2 separate regions of the Homo sapiens genome follow, and region 1 is linked to region 2. The links are contacts of gene promoters, found by promoter capture Hi-C in human tissues and cell types (Jung and others, 2019). All regions are on one chromosome and are shown on one strand. Each heading gives the region's core, a stretch centred on a gene start or on the middle of the fragment in contact. The rest is flanking DNA. Distances are from core to core; before and after follow the strand shown. Region 1 overlaps ENTHD1 (ENTH domain containing 1). Region 2 holds the start of FAM83F (family with sequence similarity 83 member F).

Region 1 (4,320 bases), core at 924-3,423, 140 kb after region 2:
GTCCCATAAGATTATATTTTTACTGTACCTTTTCTATGTTTAGATATGTTTAGACACACAAATTCTTACCATTGTGTTACAATTGTCCTTGTGTTACAATTGCCTACCACATTCAGTACAGTAATATGCTATACAAGTTCATTGCTTAGGAGCAATAGGCTATACCATATAGCCCAGGTGTATAGTAAGCTCTACCATCTCAATGTGTGTAAGTACACTCTATGATGTTTGTACAACAATGAAATTGCCTAGCAATGCATTTCTCAGAAAGCATCCCTGTTGTTAGGGTATGCATAACTGTTTCTTTTTTATTTTTGTTTCGGAAAACCATTATACTCTTGTAAAAACAATATAGGCTTGTTATATAATTACTCAGAAATAACCATCATTAATATCAGATGATTGCAATTCTAGGCATCTTTTTTGTGAGACAGGCTCTCACTCTGTTGTCCAGGCTGAAGTACAGTGGCACCATCACAGTTCACTGCCACCTTGACCTCCCTGGGCTCAGGTGATTCTCCTACCTCAGCCTCCCAAGTAGCTGGGACTGCAGGCATGCGCCACCACACCGGCTAAATTTGGGTTTTTGGGTTTTTTTTTTTTGGTAGAAACAAAGTTTCACCATGTTGCCCAGGAAGGTCTCAAGCTCCTTGGCTTAAGCAATCTGCTCGCCTCAGCCTCCCACAGTGCTAGGATTACAGGAGTGAGCCATCATGCCTGGACAGCATTTTTAAAAAATCTATACATGCATATAGAGAGATGGATAGCTAGAGAGAAATTATTTTTATAAAAATGGAATTATATGCTGTTTTTTAGTAAAAAATATTAAAGGTCTCCTTCAGGCAATGAGACTAGGAACTCCATTTACTGCACAATAACCAAAGACTGGAAGTGACACACTATTTGCGACACTACTGGCCTCACAAGAAGTATGGGAAGTCTCTAAGTTTCTCTTTTTGAAAAATGTAAAATAAAATAAGAACAGTACATGTGAGCTGAAGTCAGAGTGACTTGGCATTCTGCCTGTGGGAAGCTGCAGGTAACTGTAGGGGTTGAGTTGCTTAAGAGCAGTTGTTAGTAGATCAGAGAATGAGTTTGGGGGCTGTCTTGAGCATTGGGAAGGAAAGCCTTGGGTCACTATGCTGAACCCAGACCCTCAAGGGGACTGAATTGAGAAAGTGTACTCATTTCATAAGTTAAGTCCAATAGGATTTTCACCAGTTTAAGACAAGCAATGAGCTCAAAATCCAATATCACCAAAACAGGAGGAGGTAAGCAGCAAAGAACATACTTAATCCCCCAAAGAGTGTAGATATTGGAAAGGTCAGATACAGAACAGCTGTGTATTTACATAAATAAAGGATATAATCGCATGCATCACCAGTTATCAAGAGATTATTAGGACTGAATGGATGAATTTGAAAAAAGGGAACTTGCAGAAATGAGAAATACTACTGAACTAAAAAAATGTATTTAGTGAGCTAGAAGATATGCCTAAAGAAAATGGAAAATATGAAAGTAATATTAATTAAGCCATATGGAGGATACTGCTACAAAGGAATGACAATTAATTACTGTACCAGAAAGCTTCTCATCTTCTACAGTAGAAGCCTGACGACAGTGACATAGTATCTTAGAAATGCTGAAGGAAAATAACAGCCTATAATTGTGTACCAGCAAGACTATGATTTAAGGGTGAGGGTGAAATAGTTATTTATAGATGAATAAAAAAACGAAGAGAGTTTACAACCATGAGACCTGCATTAAAGGGTATACTTCAAAAAGAGGAAAATTATTCCAGAAAGATAGTTGAAAATTCAAGAGAGAATAATGAATAAATGGTAAACACACACATAAATATAGATACGTATGTATAATAAACATTTGATATATAAATCTAATTTTTGAGTTAAGAAAAAGACAACTAGAATAGTGGGTAGCCACGGTATGTAAGTGGGGGTGGGCAGGTCCAGAGTTGTGTTCTAAAGGTCCTTGTGTTTTTAAGAGAAGGTAATGAATATTCTTTGACTGTAAACTTTTAAAGGTAAACGTGCATGATAAACTTTCAAGAATAAACTTTAAAAGAAGAGAAATAGAGTGCATAAATTCCAGACAAGTAGCAAGAAGAAGTAGAATGAGAAAAAAATAAAATTTTATAAAGGGCAAAAAGCATAAAGTGGAACAAATGGAAATTAAAAAGTAAAATAAATAATAGAAATAAGCCCAGATAGATTAATAATCACAGTAAATAGTAATAGATTAAACTCACCTATTAAAAGGCAGAGACTATCAGATTGGGGAAAGAGAAATCCAGATATATGCTGCAAGCATAAATTCACATAAAGATTGAAAGCAATGTATGGAAAAAGGTAAGTCAGGCATATACAAACTAAAAGAAGGCTGGTGTAGCTACTTAATAACAGGCAAAGGAGACTTTAAAGCCAAGAGCATTAAGGATAATAATAAGATGCTCAATTTCCCAGGAAGATGTAGTATTTCTAAATGTGAATATACCCAGTAAAATAACTTCAAAGTATATAAAGCAAAAGTTGGTAGAACTACAGGAATAAATTGAAATATCTACCATCATAGTAGATAATTTCAAAACATCTTTATTGATAGGTGAAGGACATGAAACTTTTTTTAATATGGATTTTATAATTGATGATATGTGTTATAAAGGAAGTCTTTACATTTCCAAAAATCTGTTTCATAGAGGACACGTTTTCTTACCAAAATACCATTAAATTTGAAGTTAACAAAAAATATAAATAAAAAATTTCCATACATTTGAATGTGGGACTATTTCTTTTAGAATAAGGTGGAAGAAAAGGACATCAGTTCTCCTTGCTACGTCAGCTTTGTAGTGGAGGTCCTAGCCATCACAGTAAAACAAGCAAGAGAAATTAAAAATGTCAGTATCAAAATGGAAGAAACGAGCATCATTTGTAAACGATAGGATTTTCATATAGAAAACTTCGAAAGATCTACAGACATACTAAAAATAGTGAGTTTTAGAAAGATGGCTGGCTATAACATCAAAACATAAAATCAAGTTATATTCTATATATCAGTAACAAATATTAAACATAATTTTTAAGATACCATTTATAATAGCCAAAAATCTTGATTTAGGAATAAGTCTTACAAAAGAAGTACAAAATCTGTACACTGTAGGTTATAATGTTTAATTGAAATACATTAAAGACCTATATAAATGGAAAGATATTCCATGTTTATCAAAATAATAATGTAAACATGTCAGTTCTCTCCAAATTGTCTAGATTTAGTGGAGGGTTTCTCAGCCTTGGTACTATTGATATTTTGAAACAGATCATTCTTTGTTGTGGGAGCTATGCATTGTAGGGTAGTTAGCATCATACCTGGCCTGTACCCACTGGATGCTATTAGCAAACATCCCTTTCTGTTGTATTGAATCAAAAAAGTCTGCAGACATTGCCAAATGTCCCCTGGGGGCCAAATTGTTCCCAGTAGAGAACCGCTGATTCAGTGCAGTTACAATCGAAATCCAAAAAGGGTTTTAAGAGTTGAATTTGATGTACTGATTCCAGAATTTACCTGGAAGAATCAAAAGTTCAAGAGTATCCAAAACATTCCTAAAATAGAGTAAGGTGGAGGGTTTGCCTTTCTAAATAACAAGACTAAAATTTTACTGATCATGACACTGTGGTATGGATGCAGGATAGGTGCATGGACCAATGGAACAAACCATAACCCTAGAAAACAGACCTGGGCCACTATGGAATCAGTAAATGACAGAAGTGGCATTTTTGAATAGTGGAGAAAAACTGAACTGCTCAATAAATAATACTCGGATAATTTTTTATCCATATTGTAAAAATGAAATGAGGTCTCTAACCTGGATGAATTAAGGATTTAAAGGTAAAAAGGCAAAACTTTGAAACGTTTAGAAGAAAATTTAGAATATATTTTTTACATTGAAATAGGGAAATATTTCATAAACAGAAAAAGTGCACATTATTTTTTAAAAGTGTTTATGAATTTGACATTTGTGGTAGGCAGAGTTTTGAGGATAAGCCCCATGACCCTTGCCTATATACAGTCCTCTCCCCTTTGAGCGTGGACAGAACCTGTGAATATGATGAATTACCACCCCCATGATTGTTATATTCTAAGGCAAAAAAGGTATTATGCTGGTAGGCCCTATCTAATCAGATGAGTCCTTTAAAAGCAGAGAGTTGGCCGGGCGCTGTGGCTCATGCCTGTAATCCCAGCACTTTGGGAGGCCAAGGTAGGTGGATCATGAGGTCAGGAGATTGAGACCATCCTGGCCAACAT
Region 2 (4,194 bases), core at 783-3,282:
ATGCTAAATAAATAGAGGCTTTGTTAGTATGACATCATGAGACTTGACCCCTAACCCCAGCTGCAGCCTGTATTGCCGCCTACATCCTTTTTCCCTCTTCTGTGTCCAATCTTGCCTTTTTCTTCTGCAGAACACAATATACAAAGAAAACTCAGTCAGACAGGGAGGAATTATAGAGAGGGAGGGTAGAAATGTGCGCAGTGGAAAGTTAACCCTTCCTTCTGGTAGCCAATGTAGCCAACTATCTAGATCACCCCAACTACCTAAATCACCCCTTCCAGGAAGATGAGCCTGAGCACTGGTCTTTCTAGCTCTATTTTCCCTCCTCAGGCCTCTTCAGCCTCGAGGGGAACCAGGACTCCAACCTCACTCACTGAGTGGAATTTGAGTGGTGAACCCAAGCCACTCCTGTTGTATTATTCTGAATTGGGCACCAAAAGCTGCTGCTGTTTCTTAACAAATCTCAGTGTAGGGCAGCCAGAGTTAGCAAATAAAAGTACAAAACGTTCCCATTCAATTTGAATTTCAGATACACAACGAAGAATTTTTCAGTATCAGTACGTCTCATGTCATGTTTGGGATAAGCTGATACTAAAAAGTTATGTGTTGTTTATTGAAAGTTCAAATGTAGTGGGGCATCCTACATTTGATCTGGAAGCTGCCCAGGACTCCCACCCAAAGGCATAAAGATTAAAGTCTTCCACCTGTTCCACAGTGGACTGGCCTCACCAGCCACCCTGGAAACAGCCCCTCCTTCCAACTCTCAAGCAGGACACATATGCTAAGTAGGAGCCCTTTCCTGAGCTGCCGAGTCAGGTGACCTGCTGTGCCAAGGCGCCCAGCACAGGGCCAGGCACACAGTAGGTCCTCAATATACCCCGTCCCCCATTCATTCCAGGCAGCTGGGGCCTAGTACCCGGCCCAGGAGAGGCTGTGACTGTGAGGGCGCCAGCTCAGCTTTGACTATGGGAGGAGAGGGGTGGTCCAAGGAGCAGCATGGCAGAGGTGGGACCGGGAAGGTCACCGCCACCCACTCCCTGAAGTTGTTTTGACGATCACATGAGAAAGCGGCTCGGGATATGTTCTGGGCAGCACGTAGGTTATCATCAAGACCTTTGAGTGGTGCATTTTAACCACAGGGCCTCGGCCCCCAGTCTTCCCTGGGGAGGAAGGCTGGACAGGGAAGTTTCAGAAGTACAGAGCAGAGCCAGTGCCTCTGAACGCTGGAATACCGACGGCTGACATCTGTCCAGCACCTTGTAATTTGCCAAACACGTTCCCAGCCATTCGCTCTACAGGCCTCACTGCAGCCCCAGGAAGTAGGGGCGGGTTGGGGCCCATTTTCCAGAGGGTGCTCAGGGCGGCCTGCCCCGGGCCCTGCCTGGGAGGTGGGGCCCGGTCCAGGGGACTGGGGCCGAGGTCCCAGCGGTGTGGGGGCGAAGGCGGGGGCCTACCTTCTGGGCCTGTTGGATCATCTGCCTGACCACCTGCTTGAGGTGCGGCGCCTTCTCGTCCTTGGGCGGGTGGGTGAAGAGCGTGACCCGGCTCACGCCGCGGTAGAAACCAGTGTCCGTCCAGCCCAGGTCCAGAGGAGGCACCTCGGTGTCGGAACGGTCGGGCCAGTAGGCCAGGGACTCGCCGGACTCAGCCGGCGCCGGCGCGGGGGCCTTGGCCTTGGCCTTGCTCTTGCCCCGGGCGTTGGCGGCGGGGACGGCGTCCTCGTAGGGGCTCCAGGCGGCCCGCAGGGCCTGGCGCTCCGGGCTGGAGAGGAAGTCCCGCAGCTGCTCCTCCTTGAGCCGCTCGCGGTAGGCCTGCTCGCCGCCGCCCAGCAGCGCCTCCAGCGCGGCCCGCCGCCGCTCGCAGTAGTAGAAGGCGGCCTGCGCCTCGGTCACCTTCTCGTTCACGTGCGCCTCGTCCAGGCAGTTCAGCTGGGACTCGGCCATGGCGCCCCGGCCCCGGCCCCGGCCCTGGCCCCGGCCCCGCCGCGGTCCGAGGTCCCACAGCCGCACCTGGAGCCGCCGAGGGGCGGGGCGCCTCACCTGGCCGCGAGCTCTGCCCCGGCCCGTCCCGCCCCGCCCCGCCGTCGGGGAGCGGCCAATCCGCGCGGGCGTGGCCGTCGGGCGGGGAGGGGCCGCCGCCTCCGCCGGGCTCGCCGGGACCTCCGGGCGGCCTGGCGGACGCGGTCGGGCCCGGGCCTGCAGGGCCCACCAGCCGGGGCTAGAGTCCCTGAGGGGACGCCCCCAGGGGGCGGGGCCGTCGCAGACCCACGTGCGGGCTCCGGCCCCGACTCCTCCGCGGGGTAAAGGTTCGCTGTCCGGCCCTCGCTGCCATCCGCCCCCGCCGGCCGCGTCGCGGGTACGAGTTCATTTTCCGCGCACGTGGAGTCCGGAGCACGTGTTCTGGCCCAGTGGCCTCTGGGGCCGCCGAGCTGACCCCTTCCCCGTCGAGGGTCCGGTGTTGGTGGGGGGGCCTGCTGCAGGACGGGATTGTGACGGCTGAGGAGCGGGCAGGGGGTGTGCAAAAGCGAAATGCTAATGAGAGCTCGAGCTCCCCACCCTTGCGTCCCAGTTCTGAGATCAGAGCCCTTCTGGGCTGGGAGTCCAACACCTTCACTGTAAAACTTTCTTTTAAAAAATAGCTATCCAAACAGAAATGATGTAAAGAGCAGCAGTGGAATTCCCCCCGCCCCCACCTTAATTTGAAGTAGGGTGTGTGGTGTCTCTCCGTGTGTGTTTGGGCAAGATAGGCTGCCAGAGACATGATTACTATATTAGTGATTCAAAATGTATGTTTGAGCTCAAGGAAGGAAACCGCACGTGCGTGCACACCACACACACGCACACACACAGCAGCGGTGGCAGCAGCTCTGCTGTTTCCCATCGGATTAAATACAATCGTCTTAGTCATTAACATATTATGTTGTTCATGCACTGCTCTACAATTTGATTCTCCACATTCAAAATATTTTCAGATCATAACAACTAAAGGTTCACATTTCTCTCACTTTATAGCGCAGCATCTCAGAGCTGGAAGGAGCTTTTCAAGCTCCTCCAACCCCCTCATTTTACAGTTGAAGAAATTGAGGCCTAGCAACGTGTGCGTTGCCCAGGTCTCCCGTGAAAGAGGCAGAGCACGGGGACTGCAAGGTTTTCTGTCTTGGAGGTCTTTCGCTGACATCACGGCCGCCTTTACCCTTTCTCCTTTTCTTGTGAAACGACAGGTTATTGGGGACCTGGTTTTCACCCCAGGGGATTTGAAAAGGTCACTTACCATTTCTAGGCCTTCCTTTCATGCTCTGGAAAAAATGAGAGTTAGATTTTCAAATGTCTGCACATTATTGTTATTATTATTTTTTTTTTTACAATAATCAGTTCTGGCATCCTGTGTCAGCCCAAAGATTGGGAGTGGTGAGCAGCAAGGTGTCCATCACCTCACTTGTCCTTTACCCCTCTTGGGAACTGGAAAGCTTCACTCCTGGTAATGCTCCACTCTTAAGTACATATAGACAGATTGTGTCCTTAGATGGGAGAGCACTTAGTTTATTACGACTTGACGCCCTACAAGATGCCAGACTCAATAGTCTGGAGACACACAGGAGCTCAGGGCAGTGGGAGAGACAGACAAACACAGAAGAGGATAGGAGTAATGAGAGTGGTTTCTTTGGGCTTTTTTTGTTTATTTTGTTTTGTTTTACTTTGTTTTGTTTGAGACGGAGTCTCACTCTGTCGACCAGGTTACAGTGCCGTGGTGCAATCTTGGCTCACTGCAACCTCTGCCCCCTGGGTTCAAGCGATTCTCCTGCCTCAGCCTCCGAGTAGCTGGGGTTACAGGCACCTGCCACCGTGCCCGGCTAATTTTTGTATTTTTAGTAGAGTTAGGGTTTCACCATTTGGCCAGGCTGGTCTTGAACTCTTGACCTTGTGATCCACTCACCTTGGCCTCCCAAAGTGCTGGGATTACAGGCATGGCCCAATAGTGTTTTAATAAACACAGTCAGAAATGCTTTGGGAGCAAATGGGCTCAACAAACATTTACTCAATGCCTACCATGTGCCTGGTACACAGTTTGCACCCAGTGTACATTTCTTAAAGAATTTGAGCCAAGAGAAAGGTATGTGGAGGGAGCTTATGGGAATATGAAGGAAGGAGCAATCTGCCCAGTGGGAACTGGGTAAGAAGGGCTTTGTCCAGCAAG

What was found. The method cuts DNA at HindIII sites, captures the fragments that hold promoters and counts their contacts. A contact is called where the count stands out against the background at its distance.
Region 1: a fragment that was not itself captured here is called in contact with the fragment with the promoter of FAM83F in region 2 in 1 of the 25 tissues and cell types used here (spleen).

Annotation. Positions count from the first base shown.
Region 1 is chr22:39,848,454-39,852,773 of GRCh38, reverse strand. All of the region lies in intron 3 of ENTHD1 (ENTH domain containing 1), which reads left to right. Among named protein-coding and RNA genes, the nearest start is that of ENTHD1, 43 kb to the left of the region's middle. The HindIII fragment of the contact is 5,099 bases long and covers 1-4,320 here.
Region 2 is chr22:39,992,792-39,996,985 of GRCh38, reverse strand. It overlaps FAM83F (family with sequence similarity 83 member F), which reads right to left and starts at 2,032. Exons shown (of 5, transcript NM_138435.4): 1 at 1,455-2,032. The coding sequence starts at 1,943. LOC124905155 reads right to left here. Exons shown (of 2, transcript XM_047441700.1): 2 at 2,218-2,638. The coding sequence ends at 2,218. RefSeq lists a silencer at 1,990-2,109 and an enhancer at 1,684-2,317. The HindIII fragment of the contact is 11,866 bases long and covers 1-4,194 here.